Regions from separate parts of the Homo sapiens genome. Here regions 2, 3 and 4 are each linked to region 1. The links are contacts of gene promoters, found by promoter capture Hi-C in blood cells and fetal thymus (Javierre and others, 2016). All regions are on one chromosome and are shown on one strand. The core of a region is centred on a gene start or on the middle of the fragment in contact, and the rest is flanking DNA. Distances in the headings are between cores, read along the strand shown. Region 1 holds the start of KRT18 (keratin 18). Region 2 overlaps KRT86 (keratin 86). Region 3 overlaps KRT82 (keratin 82). Region 4 overlaps KRT75 (keratin 75).

Region 1 (4,019 bases), core at 906-3,405:
CACCCTGTTCCTTTATCCACCCTCCCCTTCACAAACCTGCTCCTTCTACCATCTTTTAGGAAGCGCTGCCAACTCCATCTGCTGTCATTCCTTTATCACCCCCAGCTCCTAGTGTTAGCTGCTTCTACTTCTGTTCTCATCTCATTTTCTAACCCATATCATTTTGACCTGTAATTCAGGTGAGCCAGGGTGTACTCGACCCCCTGAGAATGCTCTTCATCAGAACGGTCTTATTTAAGAAGAGCCCAGGCTGCTATTTCTAAACGTCTTAGCAAGGCTACTTGCAGTTGGTTTGTCTTGTCTATTCTCCGACCCAGACTTCTCTTGGCCCCTCAATCCCTGGCCTGGCCAGTGGCCCCTGCTTGCCTCTTCGTGGTTCTTCTTCATGAAGAGCAGCTCCTCCTTGAGAGCCTCGATCTCTGTCTCCAGCTGCAGTCGTGTGATATTGGTGTCATCAATGACCTTGCGGAGCCCATGGATGTCGTTCTCCACAGACTGGCGCATGGCCAGCTCTGTCTCATACCTATAGGAGTGGAGGTGATCAGAGGGGCCCCTATCTCTGATCCAGAACCTTCTCAACTCATGCCACCTACTAAGAGAAGTTCTGTGCCCATTGCAAACCAGCAACTTGAGTCAGCAATTAGGTGGTAATCCCCTGAGCACCATTCTTGGCACTTGGAGGACAGTATTCTTAAACGGGGTTATACAAATGAACAGTTAAATGAATACACTGATGGACCCTGACTCTCATCCACCCACACCTAACAGGATCCCACTGTGAGCCCCTAACTGACCCAGCCTGGGGAGCAGATCCTTCTTAGCTCCACCCCTGGACCCCCAGCTCTCTAGCCCCCAAACTTACTTGACTCTAAAGTCATCAGCAGCAAGACGGGCATTGTCAATCTGCAGAACGATGCGGGCATTGTCCACAGTATTTGCGAAGATCTGGAGGGATTGTAGAGAGAGGTTGTTCCATGAATAGAAAGCCAGGGATGGGTGGGGTGAGTGTGTAAAAAGTGTTATGTATCCTAGTGAAAACTTCCTGGTCCCAGGAATAGCCAGAGGCTCTCCCTGGACACCTATCCCTTTTCATCTAGCCCCACCCCATTCCCTCCTTTCCTGGATTCCCAGATCCCAGCACTCTGCCCCTCTTGGGAAGCCTCAGCAGGCTGGCTAGCTGGCTGGCCTGCCTGCCCAGAAGTGAGTCGCTACTAACAAGTCCTCTTCCTGGCCCTCTCCTGGCATTTTTTCCCTAGTGCACCTGGTCACTCTGGGCCCCCTACACCCTGGATTGGCTCCTCCCAAAGGAAGGCCTCTTGTTTACTCCTAGATGACTCAGCCTTAGCCACATCCGCTTAACCCTCCAATAGTCCCCATTCCGCCAGAGCCAGTGTCTCCTCCTCTTTACAGGCCTTTCCTTACCTCCCTCCATGCTGTCCACTTCCTCTGTAAAGCTCTCAACCCTGTCCCCTTCCCCCTCTCTCCTGGGAAAGAGCCCTCCCATGCCTAGCTGCTGCTCTTAGGGACCCTGTGGCTAGGTGCGCGGATGGAAATCCAGGTATGCCCAACCCCCTCCCGGTGGAGTAGGGGTTGGGTGGTTATGGAATGACGGAAAGAGGCAAAGGAGTGTATAATTGGAGGGTCAGACAAGGCTGGGAGTTGAGGTCCCTCCTACCCCTTACCTGAGCCCTCAGGTCCTCGATGATCTTGAAGTAATGGCTCCAGTCTCTGACCTGGGGTCCCTTCTTCTCCAAGTGCTCCCGGATTTTGCTCTCCAGCCTCCGGTTCTCGGTCTCCAGGCTCCTCACTCTGTCCAGGTAAGAGGCCAGGCGGTCGTTCAGGCTTTGCATGGTCTCCTTCTCGTTCTGGATGCCTCCCATTCCTGCCAGACCCCCGGCTATCCCGGTGGCCAGGCCCCCGGACCCCATGCCGCCCCTGAAGCTGGTGGAGCGGGACACGGAGATCCGGGAACCAGAGCCCCCAGCGCCTGCATAGACGCTGGCCGCGCTGCTGACCGGCCGGGCGCCGTAGCTGGGCGCCTGGACAGAGCCCAGGGACCGGTAGTTGGTGGAGAAGGTGGAGCGAGTGGTGAAGCTCATGCTGTCCGGGGAGAGAGAAAGGACAGGACTCAGGCTTTGCGGACGACGGTGGCGGCCTGCGCGAGCCGCGCGACCCGAGTTATATCGCAGAGTGAGGCCCCGCCCCCGCCCCGGAGCCGCTTCGGAAGCCGGAGCCACAGGTGGACGGCTCGGAGCCCGCGCCCTCCGCCCCGGGCCGCTCCGCCCCGGGCCCCACCCCCGCGCCCTCCGCGCAGCCCTGCCAAGCCCCGCTCACCCCCCAGAAACGGGGTGGCCAACCGGGCATGGACACGGACAGCAGGTGTTGTTGGCCCTCGAGGCTGCTTTCAGGGCAGGAAATGACGTTATTATGCTCTTCTCCCCCAGGTGGAGGAGGTGCTGGCGAGTTTGAAATTTGGGAGTCTTGACCGGGCGCAGTGGCTCACGCCTGTAATCTCAGCACTTTGGGAGGCCTAGGTGGGCGGATCACGAGGTCAGGAGATCGAGACCATCCTAGCCAACATGGTGAAACCCCCTCTCTACTAAAATACAAAAAATTAGCCGGACGTGATGGTGCACGCCTGTAGTCTCAGCTACTTGGGAGGCTGAGGAAGGGGAATCGCTTGAACCTGGGAGGCGGAGGTTGCAGTGAGCCGAGATCGCGCCACTGCAGCCTGGCGACAGAGTGAGACTCTGTCTCAAAAAAAAAAAAAAAAAAAAAGAAAAAAGAAATTTGGGGGTCTGGTGGTGTGCGGGTGGAATGGCCTGTGAGTCCCTCTAGCTGTCCTTAACCTGCAGCCCAAATTATCCACTTGTGGAGGGGATCTTGGGGGCATCCTGGAGCCCCAGGAGTCCCGGGGAAGAAAGGCTGGGAGCTGGAGAAGAGGAGGAGAAGCAATGCCCAGCCTCATAGCTGCTTGCTTACACACTCACACCCCAGCTGCACCTGGCTCCCAAACACTCCTCGCCTGCCCACGTTTCCTCACACACACTCACACCCGAATCATACAGAGGTGTGCTCTCAAATGCACACACACATACATTCACTCAGCAAATAGGTGCAGACTCCCCAAAACAAACCCAGTCTCTGAGCCCCCTCCACCACCCTCCCCTCTCCCGACCTCACTCCCAAGGGCCTTGCCTCAGTGGAACACTGTGATTTGGACAGGGAATGCATCCTGACTTCTGCACACCGGTATATCACCTTTCCTGCATCCTTAATTAAACAAATCCTGAGCATTTACAATTCAACCAGTATGCATTCAGCACCTACTGTGAGCCAGGCCCAGTTCTAGGAGCTGGGAGAGAAGGGCGGTGACAAAAGAGACCAAAAATCTCTCACAGAGATGATAATGTGTCCCACATCGCCGGGCACAGTGGCTCATGCCTGTAATCCAAGCACTTTGGGAGGCCGAGGCGGGTGGATCACTTGAGGTCAAGAGTTCGATGCCACTGCACTCCAGCCTAGACAACAGAGCAAGACTCTGTCTCAAAAAAAAAAAAAAAAAAAAAAAATTTGAGACCAGCCTGACCAACATGGTGACACCCCTTCTCTACTAAAAATACAAAAATTAACCAGGCACAGTGTGTGCCTGTAATCCCAGCTACTCAGGAGGCTGAGGCAGGAGAATCGCTTGAACCCAGGAGGCAGAGGTTGCAGTGAGCCAAGATCGTGCCGTCGCGCTCCAGCCTGGGCAACCAGAGCGAAACTCTGACTCAAAATAAATAAATAAATAAATAAATAAAAGTAATGTGTCCTACATCGCATGGGGCCTGAGAGGACAGGCAGGCACTCCTAGGACCATCATAGCAGCGACCCAGCCCTGGTGGCCAGTGCCCCTCCCCTCTTTTCTAGGACTTTTCTCCAAGCCAGTCCTTCCCCTGTCCCCCCTTGTAAGGGCTGTCTGGATTAGAAGCCTGGCCCCAGGGGACTGCATCCTCCAAGATGCTCTCCCCAGCCTC
Region 2 (4,019 bases), core at 758-3,257, 660 kb after region 1:
TGCTTCATGTGTCCCCACCCTATCCTACCACAAAGCTTTGCACAATAAACCACCAAGCTTTGATGGCTCCATTACTCAGCACTTAATATGCAGCTGGTATTCTTTTCATTCATTCAAAAAATATTTATTGAGCACCTACTATGTGACAAGCCCTTGGAATATATCCACGAAGAAAACATTTGTACACACTGATGTGCTGCAGGGTTTCCATTTTTGTTCATTATCTGGGTATGTGTCTCTGCTTTTCTCTTAATACTGGAAGCTTGCCAAGAACAAGGGTGAGCTCTCCTATACTCTCTGGCCCTGAACCCTGAGAGCAACCTGCAGGGCCCTGCAGAGGGCATGGGGCAAGATGAGTGTTTGTGTTTTTATGTTATGTACAAACACCAGCTACTGTGTGATACTTATTACTGATGGCCGATGGTGTACAGAAGGGAGTGCAATGGGACAAACGCATCCCTTCCTTTGGGATCAGACACACAGGCTCTGGGTTCCAGTTCTGCTACTAACATGCAACCTGAGCCTTAACCTCCCTAGACCTCAGTGTCCTCATCTATAAAACGAGAATAATAACACCAACCTCAGAGGGCAACTGTAAAAATTAAATGAGTTAATGCATGTTGGACTCTTAAAATAGTATCTAGTGTGGTATAAGATGAACATCAAAAGATTTTATTATTAAGTTTGGAAGAATAGTCATAAAATAGCTTTCTACATGAAACATCTACTACTGACATAACTTTAAAAAAAATAGCCACATACCCCAGAAAAACTCTTGCATAAATGCACCAGAAGACATGAGAAAGGATGTTCATAGCAGCTCTGTTCAATCTACAGAACTCTGGAAACAACCTTGTGGCTATCGAGGTAGAAAGGCAAATAAACTGTGGTATAGCCATGCAATGAGTGCAATCCACAGTGAAAATGAACACAGGACAGCTACAGGAAGCAACATTTAATGAAAGAAACCAGATGCACAAGGATCCATGCAACATGAGTCCATTTATGTGAAGTTCAAAAGCTGGAAAAAGAAACAATATGTCATTGCAAGATGGGTGCATTGGTTCTAAAACTGTAAGAAAAGCAAAGGAATAATTAAACACAAAATGCAAGAGAGGAGTCACCCTAGGCCAGGAAGGAGTAGGGTACAATCAGAACAAGGTACATAGGAAGCTCCTGAAATACACACATGTTCTATTTTTTCCTATAAGTGGTAGGTATTGCTACAGATCTAACCACCTATGCATTTTTTGTGTTGAAATATTTCACAATAAAAATAATTGTTATCTCCACAAAGTTAAAATCTATCCTCTTTACCTTGCCAGAGCCAAGACCATAGAGTGGAGATTCTGCCATCTTCCCTCCCCTCCTCCCTGCCACCTTCCCTCCCCTCCTCCCTTCCCCATGACAAGGTTTTTTCACTCTGAAGAAAACAAGTTGAATGTCCTTTTAGGTCTTCAAAAATTAGCAGCAATTAATTCCTGAAGTTTAATGAAATGGTGTCACATTTGAATTTTTCATATTCTTACATCTTTAAAATTGCTTAGTAAGGACCAGCCATTAGTAATTAGCTTGTGTTTATACATGTTGTTTTTATAAGGAGTTATACTGGTAGAAAAGGTGAAGTGTGGATGAGATGTACTTTGACTCACAGTGCTCCTCAGGACACCCAACCGCTGGTTTACTGGGGACATCACTGCTCAATTGTGAGCAGTGCCCCAAATTCCAGATGAGGGTACAAAGAGCTTCAGAAGTGCTGGCCCAGCAGCCCTGAACTCACAAAGGGACAGCAGGTGCCATACTCTTCTCTGGGGTGACCAGATAGCTCAACACAGTCTGTGACCTCCCACATTTGTCCTGCACAAGGCCACACTCTGAATGTTTTGCACAGATACCCTGAGAGCCCTATTCTCTTCTATTTTTTTCCTCTCCTCTCTTTTCCCATCAATCCTGCTTCTGTTCTCATTCCCTAAGTCTACTCTGCCTGCCTTTGCCCTTGAAGCATAGCAGCTCCAGGGGGCTATAAGCCAGGCCATTTCACTTCTCTTTTCTTCTCCTCAATTTAATGCAAACCTCTGTACTTTACGAGCTAATTTTTCTAGGACCTGCTCTATTGGAGTGGGGGGTGGTTCACTGGGTAAGTAGAACATAGTACAGTCTATCAAAGTATTGCCATATACCAGAGGTATGCAAATAACTAAAACTGATGTTTTCCACCCCGTCCTTCAATTCTTAGCCACGGGGTGCTGCACATCTAACTCATACTCCTTCCCAGCCCCCAAGTAGCCTCACATCGCCGTGTGTCCCTAAATGACCCCTCATGGTTCTAACCATCCCAATCCACTCTGACTCTGCCCGTCTTCCTTAGATGGACTCTCTCACACCCTAAATTCACAGATACTCCCCTGTAAACAACTTTCACTACCCTCTTGAACTTATCCAAAGATTAGGAAGTCAAGGGGTTGTCACAGCTTATAAGTGAGAAGGCAATGCAACTCCTGGCTCCATCACTTACCAGCTGGGAGACTTCGGGCAAGTTATTTAACCTCCCTGACCCTTGGTTTCCTCATCAGTAAAATGGGGATAATGGCACATACTTCATATGATTGATGTGAGAATTAGAGATCATTTACGATATATAATGATGATCACATAGTAGGTGACCAATTAAAAAGAAACATATTCTTATCAAACTAAGATCCATGTTTCTCTACACAGTTCTTTCTAATTCTAATTCTCTATACAGTTTTTCCTAATACAGGGGGAAATGTACTGAAGTGATCCAACCTCCATCTCCTGGGTTCAAGCAATTCTCCTGCCTTAGCCTCCCATGTAGCTGGGAATACAGGCACGTGCCACCATAACGGGCTAATTTTTGTATTTGTAGTAGAGACGGGGTTTCACCATCTCTGGTCTTAAACTCCTCCACTGAGGCTGGTCTTGAACTCCTGACCTCAGGTGATCCACCCCCCTCAGACTCCCAAAGTGCTGGGATTACAGGTATGAGCCACTGCGCCCAGCTGTGATTCAATTTAGCATCACCAATCTGACATTTTATGCTTCCTGGGGTGATATAATAAGAGTTACACAGCATATTTTATGAAGTATTCTGTCCCAACAATGTTTAATTTAAACCTAATCCAGCCTCTAGCCCAGTGCTGTCCAACAGAATTTTATGTGAAAATAAACAATAAATAAAATAAAAATAAATAATAAAGAAGTGTTCTTTATATGCACTGTCTAATAAGGTAGGCACTACTTACAGGTAGCTGCTGAGGACTCAAAATGTGGATAGTGCAACTGAATAACTAGATTTTTAACTTATTTAGTTTTTACTAACTTAAATTTAAGTAGCCACATCTGCCTATTGTCTACCAAATTGGACATCCCAGCTCAAGATTTACTTTCTAATTTATAGAAAATACAAGGGCTAGAGCCACAAATTAAATTATGTAAAATGTAGTTTTAAAATCCTTAGGACAGTTAGGAAAATTGAATCTGAGATGAATAGTAAGTGGTGCTTTGGAATTATTGTTAATTTTCCTGAATAAGAAAATAGTACTCTCCTTATTCTTAAGAAATTCCTGCTGATGTATTTAAGGGTGACATGCCATGCTTTCTGCCACTCAAATAATTGGGCAACTGTGAAAGCAAATATGGTATAATGTTAACTGTTGAATCGGGGTAAACAGGTGGAGCATCAATGCATGTGTGTTGTATTATTCCAATTTTCCTCAATATTTGAAAGCTTTCATCATAAAAAAGATAAAAGACAAATATTTAATAATCTGCTGACTGTTCCCATGGTAGGAAAAGTGAGATGGTTTTCAGCTGCCAACTGAAAAATCTGGAGATGGGGAAATCCAGATTTGTGTTTCAGGAGCACTTTAGCCACAGCTGTGATGGAAATGAGAGATGGTATTTATTAATGCCTCAGCCTTTCCTGAAACCCCTCTCCCCACATCACACTTAACACACAGGTCTCCTCCTCCCAGTTTCTCCCAGCACCTGGCCTCCCT
Region 3 (4,019 bases), core at 927-3,426, 550 kb after region 1:
CTAGGAAGGCATGCCTTCAGAAGGTGCTGAACTGAATCTGCACCCACTGCAGGAACAGTGCAGATTCCCACATCTACAGCACAGCACCCACTGCAGGAACAGTGCAGATTCCCACATCTACAGTATAGCACCCACTGCAGGAAGAGCGCAGATTCCCACATCTACAGTACAGCACCCACTGCAGGAAAAGATGTGGCATGCCTTCTGAAGGTGCTGAAGGACTCAACAGCCTCTGGGTCCATCCCACGCCCCAGGGAGGCTCTTGGGGTGAGGATTCATTCCACAGTTTGAGCTGGTGTTTCTGGTGACCGTAAGGTTTAGGGGCAAGAGTCCTGGGCCAGAGGTCAGGAGCCCTGGCCACTGGCATTGACTCTACTCCTACACCCGGAATCCCCGGGCAAGCCATTCACCTCTTGGCCTTTGGACGGTGCTGCCCAGTGAGGAAGGGGAGGAATGACGGTGGGAGATTAGAGGAGGTAATATATGCCAAAGTGCTTCACAGAGGAACTTGTTTAGTCAAACTTACAGTTTTATTTCTAAAGCTTATTAAGTTCTGGCTATAAACTTATTCCAAAAACATGGGCCCGAATTAGCAACAACATCACACCACCTTCTGTTAGGCTGGGAGCCTCCTGTTGATGCAGCCACTGACCAGAAGTAGGGCAATGATACTTCTGTAGTTTTCTTGACAGACAATGCACGATGTGGAAAATTCCAGAGCAAGGGCTGGAGACCACGTTCCCTTAGTCAATGTCCAGCCGGGTGGCCATGGTGAACTTACTCAACTCCTAATCTCAGTTTCCACTTTACGAAAAGGGAGGAGGAGGCCAGCAGCTGTCCACATTACTAGGACCTGGACTTTTTTCAGATACAGCCATGTAGGATGCAGCACAGTAGGTGAAAAGAGCTTAGAGTCCCTTGATCCGTCTTTTCCCCTGAGTGTCCCTAGGCTGTCATAAAGGAAAGCCTCGACCCCCAAGCTTCACATCCTCTGACACTAGTATGAAGTTAACAGAGTCCCTTCCCATACACTGTCCCAGGTAGGAGCTTTGGGAAGCAAAGTGAGGCTTGAAGGGACAGGATGTCTTGGTCAAGGTCACGAGGATAGAGAGAGGCAGGCAGGCAGTGCTGAAACAGGACTTGCCTAGGCCTCTTGGAGAAGTACCATCCACTACAACACGCAACCTCTGAGTGGAAAGTAGGGGTCCACTAGGCTCTCCCAGGCAGGGGAGACACAGACACACATGCCCTCAGATGCCAGTCTATGCAGAGACCCTGATTTTTGCAAATTCTAGTGCACTGGTAGCCATGTGTTGGGAGACAGGGCAGAAACTCATTCCATTGCCCTCTCTAAGTCATGGTCCCCAGGATCTCTGCTGCCTGGTGATATTCCATTCTTGGCTGCAGGTCCGTTTCCTGGAGCAGAAGAACAAGCTGCTGGAGACCAAGTGGAACTTCATGCAGCAGCAGAGGTGCTGCCAGACCAACATCGAGCCCATCTTCGAGGGCTATATCAGCGCCCTTCGGCGGCAGCTGGACTGTGTGTCCGGGGACCGCGTGAGGCTAGAGTCAGAGCTCTGCAGCCTCCAGGCTGCACTGGAGGGCTACAAGAAAAAGTGAGTCAGTGCTGCTTTTACCCCACTGGTGGACCTGGGGCAAGGGACAGAAACAGTCTGGGCCCTGATTCCCCATTTATAAAATGGGAAGCCTAAACTTAGTTCACTGGGTGGCAGAACAGTTAGGTGGGATGGTGTCAGCAGGGCACCCCACTTGGCACACGGTAGGAGCTCTGAGACTGTGTATTGCCATCTCTCTCCCCACTACTCCACCTAAATAAAGCCCTCAGATCTCTCTCTCTCTGTAAAATAAGCTCTTTCATGTGTGGCTTCTGGAGCTCCAGCTTCCAGCTGAAACTGCCTGTTGTGCCTTTGCAGATCCTGAACTACTTCCTATTCCACAGACAGATCCCCAGGCCTCTTCCCTCCGGGCTTTTGTTCCTGCTGCTTCTCCTGCCTGACACACCCCTGTCAGCATCTCTCTGCTCCATGTCCAAGCTACCACAGCCCACCTTTTCTCTCACCCCCAACTCTGGCTTCCTGCACAGCCCTTCTGCCCTTTCCCTGCATATCAGGCTCTAGCTCCTTCTGCCTCACTTCCCAGTTCTTTGTGGTTCCTGTTTTGTCTTCTGCCACACTTGCTCCCCCTGAGGATGAGCTCCAGGTCTAATTCACAGCTTGGAGTAGGTGGTTGATAAGCATATGGTAATTAAGTGCTTTCAAGAGGCTGAGGCCCAGATAAATTTTCTCACCAGGTCCCGGGCTGAGTGCCCCATGGGAATCCAGTGTCCTATGGGAATCCAGTGCCCCATGGGAATCCAGTGCCTTGTGACAGTCCAGTGTCCTATGGGAGTGCATGTTAGAGGCAGGCAAGTTGAAACAGGTGTCTTTCTATTGAGGAGAAACAGGGCAAATATACTGAGAGCAACAGGTCATAAGGGTTTGGGTCAGTGAAGTGGAGCCGTGTTGGGGACACTCACTGCAGGTGTCAACCACATGCCTACTCAATGCCAGACACTGTGCTAGAAAGTGTGGGTGCTATTGAAAGAAAAAAGGCTAACTCTTTCCCAGTCCAGTGTGCACAGACCACCTGCACCTACACACAAACAGAGAAGAAGGGAGAGGAATCCCAAGAAAGGGAAAGAGCGGGAGTCCAGGAAGCCTTCCTGGAGGAGGTGCGATTTGCTCTGGCCCTTGGAGGATAATGGCTCATTCCAATGGCATTATCCTCCATTTTGGAAATGGGGAAAGGACAGGAATGGGTGGCAAGAAAGAGGAAGGGCCTGCCAAGTGAAGGGGACAACTCTAGCAGACTGTGACAGGTGAGATGCAGTGAGGCTGTGGGAGGGCTGGAGGCCAGCCTGTCAGCAGAAGCAATGCCTTTCTTGAGGAGTGAGTAGCAAGGTGAGATTAAGAGACAGGATTTGCAGCTCAAGATGAGAACTTTGGCTTTTAAAAGTGAGACAATCGGGGAAGGATGAGGTCCAACTGGTATTTTAAGAATAATAGCAAACACTTTCACAGTACAGAGCCTGTACCAGGCACTGTCCTAGTGCTCTTCAGGTATTAATGCATGTGACATGTTAGCTCACAACAGCCCTGTGAGGCAGAACTAGTGTTAGCCTCATTCTATGGATGACGAAGCTGTGCATCATGAGGCAGAAAGGCCAAGTCACTTACCCAACTTGCCCACAGCTTGCACGGGACAGAGCCAGAATTCAAACCCAGGGGGCTAGGCTCCAGAGTCCAGGGCCGTTGCTGCAGCAGTTCTGCTGGAAAAAAAGAGAGATGGACATGATGAAGCAGAGAAGCTTTTAATGAATTGATGCTGCTTATCAAACTGAACCCCCTGACCAATTCCCTCTGCCTTAGGGGAGTGGTGAGTGGGCTGAGGAGCCCCAAGGAGCCTGAGGAAATAGCCTGGCTGTCTCTGTGGGTCTGGTAAGATGGATAATTGCTACCTCTGCAAATGGACCACAGGTAGAGGCCAGGCTCTGAACCCTCCCAGCGAGGAGGATGCACAGGGTCAGCCGGGAATTTCAGTGACTCAGAAAAAAACAGCTAGGCCAGCAGCACAGCCTTCTTCTACGTTCCCAAGGGAGGCCACTAGGTGAAGTGAACCTCCTCAGCAGCAAGAGAGAATGAAGGTAGCCTTAAGGAGGATCTCCCAGGGAGGACTCATCGCGGGAGAAGGTTCCTGAGGAATGGGGAGAAGAGTAAACTTGACAAGTGGCTACTCATCCATCTCAAGTGGGTGGAGGAGCTAGAGTTGCCAAGACAGGGCTGGACCTGGGCACTCCCCAGGGCATTCAGTCAGTGACAGGCAGAGTTGCCCCCAAAGGCCTGATGCCAAGATCTCTTCCAAAATCCACAAGCCCGACTAAAGCATTTTTTCCTGCCTTTTCCATCAGATACGAAGAGGAGCTCTCCCTGCGTCCCTGTGTTGAGAATGAGTTTGTTGCC
Region 4 (4,019 bases), core at 659-3,158, 520 kb after region 1:
AGCCTTGTCATACTAAACTACCCCAGCTCTGATGCTTCTCCCCCGAACTCCCTTATCCCATGGCAGGACAACATCTAACAAGGAGAGAGTACTGATTCCCAAATTCTAGGACACTGGGTAATTTCCCAAGGAATCAACACATACCTGCTCCCTTCCCCTTCCCTGAAAAGTATTAAAAAAAAAAAAAGGCAAGCTGTCCCTCAGCTCATTGGTCAGGGGGCTTCCTACCCTTTGAAGATGCCTCATTCTGGGCGCTACCCCTCCAAAGGCAGAGACCTGGGTCTGTGGAAAGGGAGAGAGAGGTAGAAAGTGATGGAGTCACACTGTGCAGGGGGAAGCAGTGTCCCAGATGTCCCCAATGCTCTTAAAGAAGCCGTTTATGTTGGCATACTGAACAGACACGTGTCACATTCAAATCTATGTAATTCCAATTCAGAGGATGCTTACCCACCCTCATGCCTGGGGAAAGCACACAGATGGGAGCCTTGAGAAGTAAGGCTGGGAAAGATTTTCACCACACTGATCTTTTGGGATGAATGGGAATACCTAGGGAATAGCTGGGAGAATCTGCCAGGAATACCAAGGAAAGGATTCCTGACCTAGATGGGTAGTTAACCACGAAGATTTAAGATTCTTCATCTTATGCCTTGGTGATGCTGAGTTTACTGCCCTGCAGGAGCTGTCCCAGTTGCAGACCCAGGTCGGTGACACATCCGTGGTGCTGTCCATGGACAACAACCGCAACCTGGACCTGGATAGTATCATCGCCGAGGTCAAAGCACAATACGAGGACATTGCCAACCGCAGCCGGGCCGAGGCTGAGTCCTGGTACCAGACCAAGGTGAGCATGGACACCTCCATGAGAGGTTCCAGGGTTAGTGTTCTCTGAGGCTCCACATTATCACTTAACTCAGCCTCAGGAAACGTGTGAGCACATTCGTTTATTTCAACTTAGCAGGCATGTCTTTGATGCTATGACAACTTAGCTTGAAATGCATGTGGAAACCGAACCAGACACACTAATACATGGTCAGCCCAATGCTGGGAGCTCAGGACATCCACTGGCCCCACATTCCTCAAGATCTGGGTGGGAGCAGGGTGAGACACCAGGACAACCGAGACACAGTCATGAAGCAGTTTCTAAAAGGCTTATTTATTCTCTATATATTTTCTGAGCTCCTGCTGTATGCCAATCAGGGTTACAGGGTTGCAAATAAATAAACTGCAAACAGAGAACCCAAGCTCTGGGAGGCCATGAAGTGAATGGACAATCATGGAAGGGAAAAGATAGCATGAATAAAAAGCTTCCAGGAAGACATGGGGGCTTTGTACAGTTGGGAAGCCATGAGGGACAAAAGATTGCTGAGGAGTGGGGAGAGGTTTAAGGCTGAACAAGGAGCTGGCAGGCAAGAACAAGCAAGGGAGTTTATGTCAGGAAGAGGAAGGCTGGGATAAACACAAACAGCTACTGCCCAGAGCTCAGACAGCCGCAAAGAAGTTTGGCTTTGCGGGGTACAATTGACCCATGATACCAGCTCCCTGTCAAATCCAGACCCCTCTTGGGGCAGCTTCTCACCTACGAGCAGGTTCCAACTCTTTCCCTGCTCCATACGTTGCCTCATCCCTTCTGGTCAGGAGTGTGGTGGAAAGGAAGGTGGGTAGCAGGGACCAGGGTTCCACAGGGCAGAGGCAGCGCCTTGACGGTGAAAGGAAACATGATGCACTTAACCCCAAGGTGAAGTGGTTGAAATCGATAGCAAACGATTCCTCATGTTGTTGGGTTGTTGCTCCATTTAATCATGTATACCTAGAAGCGGGAACCTGAGCTATTCAGCACTTTCAAGAACCCCACAGATCTTGACTCTGGCAGGGGATCTCCTTTTGTCAGGGAAAGGTGTAGGTTTCACTTCAGTCTGCTGGAGGAGACAGGGTGTAATTATTGCTCTTAAATTCACATGTCCTGGATATGCACCATTAGATTGAGAACTACCTGAGATTGGGAATACTTTTACAAAGTCTTCAAAATTGTGCCTTCCACAGCCTCTGCACCATCCCACACCATTCCCCCATATCTCCTCCCTGTTTCCCCAGCACTGGTGTTTGGAGGGCTACCAAAATTCATGGGCACAGTTGGTCTGGATGCACGCTCTGTGACCAGGAACTACCCAGGGACCTTGATCAAATCACCGTCTCACTCCTAGAACTCACCATGTTCCTTCCCTGACCCAGAGTCTTCATGCAGGCTGTTTCCTTTGTCTGGAATGTTCTCCCCCACAACTGGTCACTTAGGTCCCTCCTTCTCATCCTTCAGACCACAGTTCAAGCATCTCCATCTCTGGAGAGACTTCTCTGACCACCACTTCCCACTTCCAAATCTAGGTCAGATTCCTTCATTACACTCTCCCAGGACCCTGTTCATTTCCTAAGGGCACTTATCTTAGTGTGGAACTATACATTTGATAATATGCTAATTCAGTTAATGTCTATGTCCCCCAATAAACTGTAAGCTTCAGGGGGAATGAGTGAATGACCAGGAATGAATGAGCCTGCTTGTGGCACCCAGGGTGGGTCTGTGTGCACAGCGAGTGCCTGGGCCAGGCATTTGACTCAGTGACTGGGTTTGCTCTGGTTCTCTCAGTACGAGGAGCTGCAGGTCACCGCAGGCAGACATGGGGATGACCTTCGAAACACCAAACAAGAGATCTCTGAAATGAACCGCATGATCCAGAGGCTGAGAGCTGAGATTGACAGCGTCAAGAAGCAGGTAAAGATTTGGCAGGGCCAAGAGCTCCTCAAATGCTCATTTCTTCTGGGCCTTTCTGCCATCTTTAAGAACTCCTCCCCAAGAAGCACCACACCTCCATGGGCTGTCAGCAGGACTCATGGCTTCCTCCTGTCCTTACAGTGTTCCAGCTTGCAAACGGCCATTGCTGATGCAGAGCAGCGGGGAGAACTGGCTCTCAAGGATGCACGGGCCAAGCTGGTGGACCTTGAGGAGGCCCTGCAGAAGGCCAAGCAGGACATGGCTCGGCTCCTGCGTGAGTACCAGGAGCTGATGAACATCAAGCTGGCCCTGGACGTGGAGATCGCCACCTACCGCAAGCTGCTGGAAGGCGAGGAGTGCAGGTGAGGCAGATGCACCAACTTCATCCTCAAAGCAAGTTGAGCTCACCTCAGCTTCCTGGGCATTCCTAGGGGCTCGGGCTGTTGCAGCCCCTTCTTCTCCTGGAAGAAAATGCAGTTCAGAATTGGGCTATGGCAAAAAAATAATTTTAATTTCCTTCCAGGCTAGTAAATCATTTGAGGTGCAACTACAGTTAGCATCCCCATAGAAACCTAAAACCTGATCAGGTCTAAGTAACTGAATTCTACCAAAGGAGACATTTGGTTACATGGCAGCTCTCGAAATGTGGTCTAAAAGGCCATGGGCTGAGAACAAACAGTCCTAGGATTTGGGCTTACAGATCTAACACTAAGTAGCTACATAACCTTGGGAAAGTCAGTCTCCCTTCTCTGGCCCTCAATTTCTTCAATGATAAAATGAAAAGGTCAGATTACATGATCCGCAAAGCTTCATGGGAGCTTTGTGCTCTGCCAGTTAGGAGCTGTGTAGCCAAGAGCAGATACTTAACCTCTCCACCTCTCAGTGTTCTCATCCAATAAAATGTGAATAACAATAGTTCTAAACTCTCACATTATTAAAAGGGTTAAAATAAGGGAATACACACAAAGCTCTTAGAACAATGCATGGTACACAGCGTGTTCGATAAATGTTAGCTATCATTCAGTTTCATGGCCAAAGACATAGGCTTTGGTGTCAGATGAATCTGTCTTCAAGTCCAGCTTTGCGACTATGGGCAAGTTAGTTAACTTGTCTGAGCTTCCATTTCTCCCTCTATAAAAGTGAGCAAATAATACCTACCTCATGGGGTTGTTGAGAGAACTAAGTGGTGTGATATAAGTAACAGGTAATCAACAGCTGTTACCTCTTGTTAAGTTTCTCAGTATGTGTTTATGAA

The links. The method cuts DNA at HindIII sites, captures the fragments that hold promoters and counts their contacts. A CHiCAGO score of 5 or more calls a contact.
Region 2: a contact is called between a fragment that was not itself captured here and the fragment with the promoter of KRT18 in region 1, in 1 of 17 cell types (M2 macrophages). The highest score is 5.3, in M2 macrophages.
Region 3: a contact is called between a fragment that was not itself captured here and the fragment with the promoter of KRT18 in region 1, in 4 of 17 cell types (erythroblasts, M0 macrophages, M2 macrophages and 1 more). The highest score is 6.9, in erythroblasts.
Region 4: a contact is called between a fragment that was not itself captured here and the fragment with the promoter of KRT18 in region 1, in 1 of 17 cell types (M0 macrophages). The highest score is 6.5, in M0 macrophages.

Annotation. Positions count from the first base shown.
Region 1 is chr12:52,947,254-52,951,272 of GRCh38, reverse strand. It overlaps KRT18 (keratin 18), which reads right to left and starts at 2,155. Exons shown (of 7, transcript NM_000224.3): 1 at 1,683-2,155; 2 at 863-945; 3 at 367-523. The coding sequence starts at 2,099. It also overlaps a transcript of KRT8 not described here. RefSeq lists silencers at 1,112-1,126, 1,230-1,248, 1,472-1,495, 2,157-2,206, 2,247-2,326 and 3 more, enhancers at 1,283-1,382, 984-1,638, 550-1,749, 1,573-2,166, 2,167-2,760 and 1 more, promoters at 2,126-2,187, 2,397-2,479, 2,557-2,567, 2,488-2,567 and a cis regulatory region at 2,397-2,479. The HindIII fragment of the contact is 10,122 bases long and covers 1-4,019 here.
Region 2 is chr12:52,291,858-52,295,876 of GRCh38, reverse strand. The region is part of intron 2 of KRT86 (keratin 86); the gene reads right to left. Among named protein-coding and RNA genes, the nearest start is that of KRT81, 2.3 kb to the right of the region's middle. The HindIII fragment of the contact is 3,486 bases long and covers 265-3,750 here.
Region 3 is chr12:52,401,298-52,405,316 of GRCh38, reverse strand. It overlaps KRT82 (keratin 82), which reads left to right. Exons shown (of 9, transcript NM_033033.4): 2 at 1,408-1,616; 3 at 3,968-4,019. Among named protein-coding and RNA genes, the nearest start is that of KRT82, 3.0 kb to the left of the region's middle. The HindIII fragment of the contact is 2,387 bases long and covers 983-3,369 here.
Region 4 is chr12:52,427,363-52,431,381 of GRCh38, reverse strand. KRT75 (keratin 75) reads left to right here. Exons shown (of 9, transcript NM_004693.3): 5 at 677-841; 6 at 2,639-2,764; 7 at 2,906-3,126. Among named protein-coding and RNA genes, the nearest start is that of KRT75, 5.0 kb to the left of the region's middle. The HindIII fragment of the contact is 1,203 bases long and covers 1,307-2,509 here.